Linked DNA regions of Homo sapiens: regions 1, 2, 3 and 4 are each linked to region 5. The links are contacts of gene promoters, found by promoter capture Hi-C in blood cells and fetal thymus (Javierre and others, 2016). All regions are on one chromosome and are shown on one strand. The core of a region is centred on a gene start or on the middle of the fragment in contact, and the rest is flanking DNA. Distances in the headings are between cores, read along the strand shown. Region 1 has its middle 18 kb from the start of PAX2. Region 2 overlaps HPSE2 (heparanase 2 (inactive)). Region 3 has its middle 1.6 kb from the start of PAX2. Region 4 overlaps LBX1-AS1 (LBX1 antisense RNA 1). Region 5 holds the start of LINC01475 (long intergenic non-protein coding RNA 1475).

Region 1 (2,700 bases), core at 93-2,592, 1.2 Mb before region 5:
AATGGGGTTTTGCAAGATCAGTAGATGTCCACTAAATGCAGGAGCTAAGCAGGTGAAATATTCCTAGGCAGAAGGAGCATCAAGATAAAGGCATGGGGAGGGGGCAACAGCCTACCTAGCTGGGGAAGCAAAAAGGATTCTGTGAAGCCAATATATGGGTCAAGTAAGGGAAATAAGGCTGGGAGGTTGGCAAGGCCTAGAGCAAGGAGAACTTTTGCTAAGGATTTGCTTTTCTCCTTTAGGTCATGGATGCAATTGAGAGATTTTTTGTTTGTTTGCTTGCTTTGTTTTGTTTTTGTTTTTGAGACAGGGTCTCACTTTGTCACCCAGGCCAAGTGCAGTGGCACTATCACAGCTCCTCGCATCCCCAACCTTCCAGGCTCAAGCAACCCTCCCACCTCAGCCTCCCGGGTAGTTAGAACTACAGGTACATGCCACCACACCTGGCTAATTTTTTAATGTTTTGTAGAGATGAGGTCTTGCTATGTTGCCCAGGCTGGCTTTGAACTCCTGAAGGCAAGCAATTCTCTCACCTTGGCCTCCCAAAGCAGAGATTACAGGAGTGACCCACTATGCCTTGCCTGGGAGATTTTTTCAACAGAGGAATGAAAAGATCTGATTTGGAGGGGACTCTATGGACAATGAGCTGTAGGTAGAGAGAGCATCAGAGACTGAGTGAGTGGTCTGCAAAAGAAGATGTGAGGCCTCAAAAAAGTCTAAGGGATACAGAAGCATTAGATGAGAGAGGCAGAAACAAGATGGTCACAGATTTTGTGTGTGTGTATGTGTGTTGCAGGGTGAGATGCTAAATTAAGGTCAACCTAGGTTTCTGGGTGAATTTCATCTCAATTCTGATTCCTCCCCTGTACCCTCCAACTCTCTTCCCTTGCAAATCCTCACCTGTAGTGGTTGTGAAGTGGAAACCCACATGTCCTGTCTCACTTGACAAATGGGTTTTTCTCCCAACCTCATGCACCCTTTACCGGGCAGTCTCATAGAACAATGCACACTATAGAAGATGATAACTTCTCACTAATCCCAAGACATCTGAGAAAGCAGCACCCAAGGGTAGAAGATGGAGTCAGCAGTCTGGAGGTGGACTCCACCTTTCTCAGATCTGAAATGTACCAGCTATGTGACCTTGGGCAAATCCCTTGAACTCACTCTGCCTAAGTGTTCACGTCTGTAAAATGGGGACAAGAATTTCTGCTTTATAGAATTGTTGGCCGGGCGTGGTGGCTCACGCCTGTAATCCCAGCACTTTGGGAGGCCGAGGCGGGCGAATCACGAGGTCAGGAGATCGAGACCATCCCGGCTAAAACGGTGAAACCCCGTCTCTACTAAAAATACAAAAAATTAGCCGGGCGTAGTGGCGGGCGCCTGTAGTCCCAGCTACTTGGGAGGCTGAGGCAGGAGAATGGCATGAACCCGGGAGGCGGAGCTTGCAGTGAGCCGAGATCCCGCCACTGCACTCCAGCCAAAAAAAAAAAAAAAAAATTGTTGGTCAGGTTAAGTAAGTTTTTATATTCCTGGCACATTTAAATAACACATTTCATCATGTTATTTCATTCCCTACCCCCACCCAAGCCTTGGACTTCTTCATGCATTGATTGAGCTTTGTCTCCTGCACAGGTACAGGGTGTCAGGGGTACAAAGAGCAGTAATGTAATGATGCTCTGGAAAAGTTGTCAACAAGAGGAAAGGCCTTGTACTCCACTGGAACAAGGTTAATGATAATAACAACAAAACAACTAACATGTCTGAGGGCTGACCGCATGTCAGATATTGTTCTGAGGACTTTATATATAGTAATTCCTTTAACTCTCACCTACTGTCATGAATCCCATTTTACAGATGGGAAAACTGAGGCACAGAGAGCTTCAGTAGCTTACCCACAATCACACAGTGAGTAGGTGGCAAAGGTTAGGTTCAGATCCTACCTTTGCCACCTACTGCCTCCCTAACCTACACTCTTTAAGCATATGCTATATTAGATACTCCTAGTCCCCAGAGAGAAGTCAGAGGGCAAGAAACCATTTTGTCTGGCTGAGAGGACTCTTTAAGGACATCAGTTGGTGAAACACAGGAGCCCCCCACCCCCTGCCTTCCAGATCCTCATGCCAGTCCTCTTTCACTCCCTCCATACTCTGCTATTTTCTCTGCCCAGGGCCTCTAAATCAGATAACTCAGATCTGACTGCTGCAGGCAGACTAGCCAAGACTGTGAGGCTGCAGGGCCTCCCAGCCCTCACTCAGCCCTTCAGGAAGCTCTAGGGCCCCCACCCCAAGAAGTGTTTTTTGTGTTGAGAGATTGATTTTTCCCAGTCAGGCCTTGCCCCTCTCCAAGATGCCCTCAGGCCCTCCCAGCTTCCAGGCCTGCAGCGTCACTATGGGTGTCTCCTCTCCATGCCCTGTCCCAGCTGGGCTTAGCCTCTGATCAGGCCTAAGTGGGCCCTGATCCTCAACACCAGCCACAGCAAGAATTCCCTAGACAGATCCTGATGGGCCACATGCAGGCCTGACCTGGGTTGTCCCATACAGATCCTCCATGAGACTGGCCAAGGTCCCTGGGAACTGCAGAGCACAGAGGACCCTGCCCATGAGCCCATCCTGTCTACAAGCTCCTGTGTCCACACAACAGGCACTGTGGCCAGCCTCAGAAGTGACCTCACTGTGGCCAGAGCTGCCCCCATCCCATATC
Region 2 (2,700 bases), core at 61-2,560, 1.1 Mb after region 5:
TGTGGCACAGAGATAGGTTAGGAGGCAAGTTCTGAACTAAAAAGATAGCAGTGGATGGAGGAAAAGGAGCAGATTTGAAAAACACTATAAGGTCGAATTATTTTGACTTGGCTACCCTACACAAGGGAATTGGGGGAGAAGTCTCAGAAGACTCCAAGCTTTCTGGGTACAGTAATTGGATAAATGGCGGTACCATCACAAAGATAAAAAAAAAAAAAAAGCAGAGATAAGGACAGAGTTTGAGGAGAAGATTTTGAATTTGGACCTAGTGACTTTGAAATTCCTGTGGACAGCCAAGTGGAGATACAGAAGTTCATAGAAAGAATGTAGGTAGGGTAGAGATACAAGCTTAGGGAGCATCAGCTTGTGGATAGTGACCGAAGTCAAGGGTGAGAGCAGCAGCAACCTGGGAGGAGTGCAGAGTGTGGGGACAGAAGAGTCCAGGGACAAAACACTAGGAACCCTAGCATCTGAGAAGCAGGCAGAGGGGAATGGCTCCCTCTCAAAAAAACAAAAACAAAAACGAAAACAAAACGCCATCCAGAAATGGAGGAAAACAGAGAGAAATATCATGGGAGCCAAGGGGAGAGAGGGTTTTGAGAATGGAGACCTGAAAATGTGAGTACCACAGAGCAGTCAGGTATGATAAGGACCAACAAGTGCATCTGTCCACAGTGACATTAAAAACAATAGCAACAACAGGTCAGACACGGTGGCTCATGCCTGTAATCCCAGCATTTTGGGAGGCCAAGGCAGGTGGATCGCTTGAGGTCAGGAGTTCGAGACCAGCCTGGCCAACATGGTGAAACCCCGTCTCTACTAAAAATACGAAAATTAGCCAGGTGTGGTGGCACATGCCTGTAGTCCCAGCTACTCGGGAGGATGAGGCAGGAGAATCATTTGAACCCAGGAGGCAGAGGTTGCAGTGAGCCAAGAATGCACCACTGCACTGCAGCCTGGGCAACAGATCGAGACTCCATCTCAAAAAAATAAATAAATAAAAATAAAAAGAACAACAACAACAAAAACACCATATCTTAAGTATATGGTTCATTATGCTTTCAAAGCACTTTCATATTTCTTATTTCATTTCTTTGGTGCCTATATAACGTTCTTACAGATGCAAAAGCTACAGGGCAGTGAGGTTAGGGGATTTGCCAAAGCCATCTAGCTAGTTAGCAACTTGGCTCCTGGAATTCGAGATTTCAGTAGAGAATCTTCACCATGCTTCCTGGTTCTACTCTTAGCTTTTTAACCAACCAATAAAGAAACCAGAATAGGGCCTGTTCCAGGACAACTACTCCTTATTAGTATAGATTTTTAAAGGTTTGCTAATCACACGTTGTTTTGCACTCCCCAGAACCCAAAGATGTCAATACTGTGGGATCATCTGAATCTAAAAGGGCATTACCTAATTCTTCAGAAGAAAGGTTTGCACCTAATTCTGTATATGGGAGAAACCATTGAAGGTTTTCTAGCAGAGACCTGATATAAATTTGAGTATGCCTTAGAAAGATTAATCGGTATTATTGAACTCGTGTTTGACTGTGCTTATATCTGGGTGATAGATATTCATAGCACCTGAAACAAAATAATGAAAATACACTGTGAAGACCCATCTGGGCTTCTTTTGTAACTGAACCACTCTCCTCACCCTGCCTTCCACTCCAATGAGTAGGCTGTCTTCACTACAGAGGGTCACTTCTCATATTTGGAAGCAAAAGCTCCTTGCATATCTGATGCGGTCAACACTGACCTTCAGATCTCAATTCTCCCACCCCATGCCTTCCAGAGGCAGGCCTCGCTCTCCATATAGAAGCCTCCTACTCACTTATTCACTCAGTCATTCTAGCAAAGGGAGGGGGCCTGCTCCCTCTGGCCTATCAGATCTGGACCTAGCCCAAACTTACCCATGTGGGGCCAGGCCTGGATCTCTTCTCTGCCTAGCTCTCCATTGGGAGCAATTTACAACACACTTATCTCTGGGAATTCACTGCTCTATTGGGCATGGGTCTGATTATCTCTCTCTAAAGCAGTCTATCATTCATAGCACAGAAGGAACACTAAACAAAGACCTCTATATCAATTTATAACATTCTATTCTCTTTACAGCTCAGATGATGTCACGGCAATGTTATCACACTGGAGGTTGGGCAAGGCCCAGAAACAGTCATCACTATGCAATGTTGATTTTCTGAGGGTGACTCACAACCTTATTTCCAGCTGGTGGCCTGTTTCTGGCCTTTTCTGCTGACCCATAAAACTAAGCTTCCACCTGGGTGCATGGCTGTCAGGAACAGCTGGAACATTATCTGGATTCTGGTACCATAGGTCAAGGATAGGTGGCATTTCCCTCTATCCAGCATAAGATGAGCTGTTTCTCTTTTCTAAGTTTGCTATGTATGTAGTCCCCCTTCTCAGGGTGAAAGTGGCTGGCTATACAGAAAGGATAAAAGCAAGATAGATGAATTGTGATCACAAATGCCTACTTTATCACTTACTTTGCTGTTTTGCTAAATGGAAACATCTGTTAATATTAAATATGAAAACTCATTTTTTGTTTTTTTTAGGGACAGAGTTTCTCTGTCACCCAGGATGGAGTATAGTGGTGTAATCTTGGCTCACTGCAGCCTCAACCTCCCAGGCTCAAGTGATCTTCCCACTTCAAACTCCTGAGTAGCCACCATGCCAGGCTAATTT
Region 3 (2,700 bases), core at 8-2,507, 1.2 Mb before region 5:
GGAGGGAGGGAGGGAGGGAGCAGCCGGCGAAGGAAGAGGGAGGGAGGGGAGCGGACCGGGGGAGGGGGAATGGGAGCCCGGGATTAAAACTACACTGAGAAACGAAACTCGCCGATAAGATAAACGCTAGATAAGGATAAAGAGCGGTCAGTCTAATGAATATTCAGGTAACGACAGAGGGCCTCGGAGCGCGCTGCGCTGTGAAGCCGGGCTCTCAGTTCTAACTCGCCCAGCCCTGCCATCCACTGGCCAGTGCCCGCCTGGGCCGCGCGGCCCCGGGCCCAGTGCGCATCCCTAGCCCCAACCCCACCACCCTCGGCTCTGAGTTCCCTTCCGTTCCTTCCCGGCTCTTCCTTCCTCTCTTTCTGGTCCTTCCCTTTGGCCTTTCCCTCCGGAGGTACCTTCCCACCCACGCACCCCCCACTTCTCATTCCACGGAAAAGTGTCCAGCAGTTTGTCTTGTCCCCTCCCGTTCCACGCGACTGTGCGCAGGGCCTCCCCAGTCCCCTTGCCCACCGGGTCTGGGCAGTCCAGAACGCTTGGTTCAGAATCGAGCTGAAGACCTCCGGCGAGTACCCACCTGCCTCGGTGGGACCCAGCGGATGGCGGGAGAGCCGGGGGACTTGGTTTCTGAACCCTCGGGTGACTGGGAAGGGGGTACAGGGGAGGGAAACAGTGCGGAGCTGCAGGTCGCTGGCGGCAGAGGATGTGGGAGACGAGGCTGGCTCTCCCCGGCTGGGGAGAAGAGGAGGCTGCGGACGCGGCTGAGCGCCGCCCGCTGCTAGCTCGGTGGATCCGGGGCGAGCGCAGGAGGCGCAACCACGGGGACGTCCCCACTCCTGCCGGAGCCTCCGCAGCTCTCTCTGGCACTAGCTCCCTTGCTCGCTGGGGTCCGCTCGCACGCACCAGGCAGAAGAAGCCCTTTGTCTCCTAACTGGTTAAGTACAGAATATCCGGGAGATCTTCATGAAATATTTTCCCTCGTCTCATAAATCATCTTGGCACTTCAGCTGATGTTTTAACTCTCTCTCCCTCCTTCGCTCCCTCCCCCCGCTTCCCTGGGTCTGCGAAAGGGCGGCTCGGCGAAGCTTGCGCAGCGCTCTTGCAGCCCGAATCCGAGATTCCTCCAGCCCCCGTCTGCAGCTCCGGGCGCCCCGCGGAAGCGCGGCGGACTCGCGCTCCCCTCCCTCTGGCCGGAGCCTGGGCGGCAGATACCATGGGGAGAGATGCACCTGCCTGACTCAGCCTAACTACTACTACTGGGCGTCTTGTACCCGGGTTTTTGGGATGCCCTTATTCCTCAGGAGGAGCTCAGGCCAGGCTCAGCGGGACGAGGTTCTGAGCCTCTCACTCCTGTGGGGCCTGGGTCCGCTGGGATCCTGGCATTTGCCCTCCCTCCTGTATCCTCCAGAGCCCAATAAGCTTAATCCACCTGCGGGGTAAAGTCTGGGAGGAAAACACTCCTCACCGCCTGCCCCTCCCAGCCCCTATCCCACTTCCCTTGGGTGGCTAGGCAGGTTGGTTCCCTTGGGCTAGAGGTTGAAGACGCAGGGCCTAGCCTCTAAGGTCAGTCTCTTCCTCTTGAGGCCTGCAGATGGCGCTCCCGGGTTTGCTTTGGCCTCACAACCCCACGAACACGCACTAACTTCGTGTAGGGACCGAAGAAGGAAAACAGTTCGGGCAGCCGAAAAGTAACAGCTCCCAGGCCAGAGTGCAAGGGATCTCAGGTGGTATTAGCTAGCACAGCCTTGGCTTTCCCCTCTGGGAAGTAATTAACCCAGAACTGGGGTGAAAGGAACGTTGAGAAAGGGTCCTTATTTAGAGGAGCTCAGAACTAAAGTAACCTTTGCCCCAGGTCTCTCCAAGTTGGTCATCCAGGAATTTGTCTCGGGGTGTGTGAACTATTGAAGGAAGAAAGCTGTGAGTAAACCCCCCCCCTTCCACACAGACACAGATTTTTCTAGAACCAGCTAGACATGTCCCTATGTTACAAGTACCATGAAATGTGGGTGCCCACAACAAGCATTTTCACATGTTGGGCGAGAAGGATTTTCCATTTTGTAGAGAAGGGGACTTAATGCGCCAAGTGTGCTGGAAGTTGTCCTCACACACCTGTCCTTCACATGCACCTTCTGAGGAGTAAAGACCCTTCTGATAGTCCCATTCCCAGGTAGCCCCTGAGAGTCCCCCCTGCTCCTGGGATCGTCTCCCCAGCACTGCACTAGCTGGACACTCACTCTTCCGCCAGGCCGGCTCCTGGCCGCTTCCCCATTAGCTCCAGCCCATTCCTGGGTCTAGAGAGTCAAAGAGTAATGCTCCCTGGAGATTAGGAACCCCTTTTCTCCAAAGCTCTGCCTTCTCCTGGGGCTCCAGGATGAAGGGCTGGCCTTCATCCAGTCACTGGCCGCTCCTCTGACTCCCCCTTTTCTGTTCTCTTTCTTCTATACAGTCTAGTAGAGGGGTGGGGGGAAGCAAGAAAGCAAAAAAAAAAAAAAAAAAAAAAAAAAAAAAAAAAAAAAAGGAAGAAAGAAGAGGAAAGGGGAAAAGAAAGAGAAAGAAAGAAAACAACCCAACCCCAAACACTACCCGGGCTCCGACCTGTCAGGGTTGGTTGCTTTTCCCGTCCGCCTCTAAATGAACCTTTTCTCTCTGGTGTTTTCAAAGCGGCCCTTCCACCCCCCAACCTAGGGGCATTTACAC
Region 4 (2,700 bases), core at 69-2,568, 1.7 Mb before region 5:
CACCCGAGCTGCCTCTCGGAAGCCGCTCGAGACTCACAGTCCGGGCTAAGGCCACGAGGACGGCAAAGTTAGTCCAGGCCTCTCCCTAGGGGACAGGGCTGTGGCGGGTGGCACCTCACCAAACGAAAAGAAACGAATAGAAAGAAATACGTAGAGGCGGAGGGAAGAGGAAAGGAGACGGAGGAGGAAGAAGAAGATGGGGGAGGGCTGGTGGCCTCCCTGGAGGCTTGGGATCTGGCTATGCGGAATTCCCGTGAAGATCCCTTTTGAGGTCTGGTGCATGCCGGCCCCCGCAGGACTGGCGGAGCCAGGGCGGAGGTCTTGGCCCGAGGCTCGCCGCATAGGTGTAGGGAGGCTGAGTGGGGACAGGAGGGAGCGGCGAAGGAAGGGAGTCGACCTAATTAATGGAAGTGAAGGGGCTGGGGAGGAACTGGAGGGATTGAGCGTTGGTGGGTGTGAGATGGGATGAATGCAATCCCTCAGGATCGGGAACCCAGGGACTTGTGGGAAGTGGGAAGAGCCAAAGGGGCCGGGTTTCGCTCAAACGAAATAAGGTTTCGGAAGTTACGGAGTGTACCTAGGGGGCCGCGGGGAGACAGGGGAGTCTGGTCCTGCAGGAATTGCTTCCACAGGTCCAAGAAAGGCTGGGAGAGGCCCAAGTACGTGGGAGTTCAGAGAGGGCGGAGGGCCCTGCAGCTTCCCTGGCGCCTCACTTCAGGGCAAGGAAAGTCCTGGCCAGGACGAAGCAGCCCGGAGGGATCCCGGCTCTGAGCACAGATCCGAGCCTGGCGTCTTCACTGTGCTTGGAACCACGCCGCCCACGTTCCCTGTGCGGCTGGGCACTGCAGATGCTGGGTTTTCCACAGGTCAGACGTCCGCATCCCTTATTCTGGCTCCGTCTCGCCGCCTGTCTTCCCTTGCCCGGAGTCTCGGGACACCTGAGCGGCTTAGCTGAGGTAGCACTTCCCAGCAGGCGGCCCCCTGACCCATGGGGCCCGAGGGGGTTGGGACCGGGGAGGCTCTCTGAACTCGACCTGGGTAAATCCAGGATACTGGTGGGCGGGGGATCTTCCACCCGACTCCCTTTTCAAGTGCCTTAATTGGCTACTCCCCTCCGCGGGGAATTGGGCGCCGCGCGGCGGCGGCGGCGCTGATGCAACCGGCCCCCGCGCGACTGCTGAATTATTCACGTGCAGTTTATTTATTATGAGAAGCCTGACTCAGGCCTTTCCTGTGTCCATTTAGCCGGGCGGGCGGCTCCTCGGTCTCTTCGTCTGTCCCCACTAGGTCCTTCCACCTTTCCACCTGGCCTAAGCTCAGGCCCCATGCCCGGCCTGCGCCCGGCGCCCCCCGACAGTAGTGAGACCTCTGTGAAAGGGAGGGAGCTGACTACCATTAACGGTTTTTGGTCAGACTTTGATGTTTCTGGGCCGTTTGAGTTAGTAAGACAGAGGGTCAGCTCTTGGAGTTTCTGGGGATGGCAAGGAGAAGGGAACTCCAATTGTAGGCCCAGGAAAGCAGCCTCTCTCATCCCATCCCCACCCCTCACCCCACCCCATAAATAAGTAAATAGCCATCCCAGGAGTCCAGCAGCCCCTGGCTCTAGGCTGCAGACCTGCTGCCGATAAACAAGAGACTAAGGGTTTCACCCTTACCCAGTAGCTCACCGCCAGGACAACAGAGGGAGGAGCTATAGGGAACTCTGGAACCTCTCTTAGGGTGGCATCTTCGGGCTTGTGCTCGGCTGTTCCCTTTGCCTCCAGGATGGTCCCTGCTCCTGCACCTATTTACATGCTCCTGGTTTTACAAAGTTCAACTCAAATGCCACCTCCATCAGGAACAGAACCAGACTCTCCCCCCACACCGCGCCCCCCCCCCCAACACACACACACATGCTCACTTAGGTTCCTTTATCCTCTTCACAGACCCCTGGGCTACTGGAGTGGCGTGTGGGTGTCTGTTTCCTGCCACTCCTGCCTGCCCATCACCTCCCATCTTCTGTCCATTCTTCCTCTCTGCTTCTGGGCCCAACGAATGATGGGGGGGTCAATCCTATTTTCTTTCTTTCCTTTCCTTTTCTTTTCTTTCTTTCTTTCTTTTTTTTTTTTTTTTTTTTTTTTTGACAGCGTCTTGCTCTGTCACCCAGGCTAAAGTGCAGTGGTGCGATCTCGGCTCACTGCAACCTCCAACTCCCAGGTTCAAGCAGTTCTCCTGCCTCAACCTCCGAGAAGCTGGGACTACAGGAGCATACCATAACACCCGGCTAATTTTTGTATTTTTAGTAGAAACAGGGTTTCACCATGTTCACCAGGCTGGTCTCAAACTGCTGACCTCAAGTGATCTGCCCTCTTCGACCTCCCAAAGTGCTGGGATTACAGGCCCAGCCACTGCGCCCGGCCTTAATCCTATTTAAAAAAAAATCCAGCCTGGGCAACATCATGAAACTCCATCCCTACAAAAAATACAAAAATTAGCTGGGCTTGGTGGCATGCTCCTTTGGTCCCAGCTACTTGGGAGGCTGAGGTGGGAGGATCACTTGAGCCTAGCAGGTCGAGGCTGCAGTGAGCCCAGATTGTGCTACTGCACTCCATCCTGGGTGACATAGTGAGACCTCATCTCAAAAACAAACAAAAAAAGCAAATGAAGGAAGTTCATTACTAAGTCAGACCACACCACCACAGCTGGGTCCACAACCCAGGA
Region 5 (2,700 bases), core at 22-2,521:
TGACACTTAGCCTCCACGAGTGGAAACTGTTCTCCAAGGAAGAGCTCCTAGATCGTCTAGCCGGAAGTCCCCTCTTTCAGGCTCTGAACCTGCAGCTTGTGTTAGCAAAGGACATGCATGTCACTTATCACTTCCCACTTAATTCTATAGCTGTATGTGCCTGCCTGGTCGCCCCAGTTAGACTGTAAGCTCCATGAGGGCAGTGTCCCGGGGTTGCTTTTGCCCTTGTATCCCTGGCAGCAGCCGCACAGAGCAGTATGTGAAAGGAAGATAGAGTTATGACTAAACTTTGGTATTCGACAGCTCTTGCTTGGCCTAGTCAGTGTGTGATCTTCGGCGTTTCTAAGTCTGTTTTCTCGTCTATAAAACGAAGGCAGTAATACCTTTTTTGGTTGTTGCTAGGGTTGAATGAGGCAAAACATGCCAGAATCTTAGTGCACGGCCTCACGCGTGTTAAGCGCTCAGTACGTGTCAACGACTGCTTTTCTGTATGGGAGGTCAAGCAGTGTTTGTTGACTGCATTGGTGGTGCGTGGCTGGAGTGTGGCACATACTGAGAGCAGGATCTGTCCTCACAAGGGAGGTGACCCAGCCTTGGCAGCCTTCTTTTCCACCTATTGAAATCAGGAGCCTGAATGTAGGCCTTGCCTCTCCGACAGGCTTTTAAAATTTCTCTACCTACACGCCTTCTGGCACCTTCATGAGGCCCTGGTTGTTTTCTGGGGGAGTCTATACAGTCCCCCACAGATTCTGGAAACTCTGAGCTGGAAACTCTGGGACCATCTTCTCCCACAATAGGCATTTGCTCGCTACCAGGCCTAGCCCAGTGAGGAGCAGCGGGCGCTGCTTTGAGGGCCACAGAAAGACCCGTGTGCAGCGCTGGCCTTAAAAAAATAGGGAACGGTTCCAGCTCAACCGTGGCTGTCCTCATCCGGCCCCAGCCAATCCAAGCATTTTTTGGCGGTCAGGATGGCGGAGCTGAAAGAGACCCGTCTCACCTGGAAGGGGCAGGTGAAAGGTGCAGGGACGGTGGACATTGCCTCCGAGCGGCATAAGACACCGGCTGGGAGTGGGTACGAGGGTGGAGGGCTGCCACGCGGGTCCCGCAACGGCGACAGGAGTGGGTGCCCAAGGTTGAAGGGAGAAAGAACAGCCTGTCGGGAGGTGGGAGAGGCGGGGCTCTGCAGAAGGGAGCGGAACTGTTGTGGAGAGGCAGCCCCTGGGTCCGCCCGGGGAGCTGGGATGCCGCGCGGGCCACGTGCGCCCCGGAGTACTTAGGGTAGCGGCGGCCCGCAGGCAGTAGGGAGAGACCCTCTGTGGGCAGGGTCTTGTGCTGGAACCGCCATTCCTCAGCCACAGGGGCGCCCGGTGTCTTTCTGCTTTAAATCCTGAAACTATTGACGCCCCAGGCGGAGACCAGTGTCTACAAACCAGGCGGTGAGTCTGCAGAGGGAGGAATGTGCCTGGTTTTGCCGTGGATCCCGAGCGCTCGGGCACAAAAATTCCGAGGTGGGGGCAGAGGGGTGCACGGCACTGCGGGGTGGCGGACCTCGAGTGTGTGTGCATCACGGTGGCCGCCGAGCATAAAAGCAGGAAGCTGAGCTCCAGCGCCACTTCCCCACCCCACCTCCGGGGCAAAACTGTCTCAGGGGAAATGTTTCTGCTCTCTTCTAGTCCCCAGTTTTCTTCTCCTCGGTGATTTCATGATTCTGGAAAAAGAAAAGGAGAAAGGCTATCGAAACAATCTCTCTCTCCCCAGTTTCCAACCGAAGCCTGCATTTCTCCTTGTTACATTCCCTTGCTTCCCATCTCGCTTCGCTCCTAGGCCTTTCATAAATCTAGCCCAACAATCCAGGTCTTAAAACTGCGACCAGGACAAAGCGCCCCTCCAGCGCCTGATCGCCAATACACGCCCACAGACGCTCTGCAGCCGCCGGAGCCCACCAGGGCGCCTCTGTGAGCTCATGCAGGGGGCTGTCTCCTCCCCACCAGCCGGCCCACGGGTGCCCCTCTACCCCAAATTCCGCCGCCCCAGCCGCTCCCGGGCCAGGTACCTTGCGCCAGGCCTAAGCGGTTGTCTCTTGAGGACCCTGGGCAGGTTGCTCCTCAGTAGGCCACCAGGGCCTGTGAGGACTTCCAGGCGAAGGGGCCTAGCGGGCGGCGCCTAGACCTTATCGCCGCTTCCTTTCCTCATACCCAGCCCAGTGTAGTGCTGTTCCAGCCTGCGGAAAACCTCTATCCGCTACCGCATCCCTAAGGTTGATCTGAGTTTTATGCCCAGAGCAGGAGTTTGGGTTGTCTCCAGCTACCCCCTCAGTATTGTTCAGACTCCCTTGGTCTGGTTCCCCAGTGGCGTGCTTCCCCGCAGGGATCCCCGCCAGGCCAATCTCATCTAGGTGGCCTCCTTTTCCCGCGCGCGCAGCCTGTACCCTCGACGGCCGCGGGCCTGAAAGGAGGAGAACTCGAGAGCCGTAGTTGTACAGCAGCAGTCGCTCCGCAGGAGTCTCTTATCAGAGTGGGATCTGGTTCCAACGCCTATCCAGTTACCATCGCCTTCTGGGGCATTTGCATTCTCTTGTCTGAAAAGTAGATCTTTGAAATCCTCGAGCTGTGCTCTACTAATAATAGGTTTTCGTTCCAGACAGTTTAGCTAATTACTGTCAGATAAAGTAAGTATGGCTGCATCCATGGAAGCGTTTGA

The links. Contacts are between HindIII fragments. The CHiCAGO score rates a contact against its expected background, and 5 or more counts as called.
Region 1: a contact is called between a fragment that was not itself captured here and the fragment with the promoter of LINC01475 in region 5, in 1 of 17 cell types (naive B cells). The highest score is 5.2, in naive B cells.
Region 2: a fragment that was not itself captured here is called in contact with the fragment with the promoter of LINC01475 in region 5 in 4 of 17 cell types (erythroblasts, M1 macrophages, endothelial precursors and 1 more); the score reaches 9.7 in erythroblasts.
Region 3: a fragment that was not itself captured here is called in contact with the fragment with the promoter of LINC01475 in region 5 in 1 of 17 cell types (total B cells); the score reaches 9.8 in total B cells.
Region 4: a fragment that was not itself captured here is called in contact with the fragment with the promoter of LINC01475 in region 5 in 1 of 17 cell types (total B cells); the score reaches 9.6 in total B cells.

The regions. Positions count from the first base shown.
Region 1 is chr10:100,725,956-100,728,655 of GRCh38, reverse strand. No RefSeq gene overlaps it. Among named protein-coding and RNA genes, the nearest start is that of PAX2, 18 kb to the left of the region's middle. The HindIII fragment of the contact is 4,114 bases long and covers 1-2,700 here.
Region 2 is chr10:98,460,480-98,463,179 of GRCh38, reverse strand. All of the region lies in intron 11 of HPSE2 (heparanase 2 (inactive)), which reads left to right. Among named protein-coding and RNA genes, the nearest start is that of HPS1, 15 kb to the right of the region's middle. The HindIII fragment of the contact is 1,920 bases long and covers 351-2,270 here.
Region 3 is chr10:100,742,664-100,745,363 of GRCh38, reverse strand. It overlaps a transcript of PAX2 not described here. Among named protein-coding and RNA genes, the nearest start is that of PAX2, 1.6 kb to the left of the region's middle. RefSeq lists an enhancer at 691-740. The HindIII fragment of the contact is 334 bases long and covers 1,091-1,424 here.
Region 4 is chr10:101,234,931-101,237,630 of GRCh38, reverse strand. All of the region lies in intron 2 of LBX1-AS1 (LBX1 antisense RNA 1), which reads right to left. Among named protein-coding and RNA genes, the nearest start is that of LBX1-AS1, 6.7 kb to the right of the region's middle. RefSeq lists an enhancer at 671-1,593. The HindIII fragment of the contact is 3,789 bases long and covers 1-2,700 here.
Region 5 is chr10:99,529,748-99,532,447 of GRCh38, reverse strand. LINC01475 (long intergenic non-protein coding RNA 1475) reads left to right here and starts at 1,271. Exons shown (of 5, transcript NR_120618.1): 1 at 1,271-1,436. RefSeq lists an enhancer at 1-176. The HindIII fragment of the contact is 4,428 bases long and covers 1-2,700 here.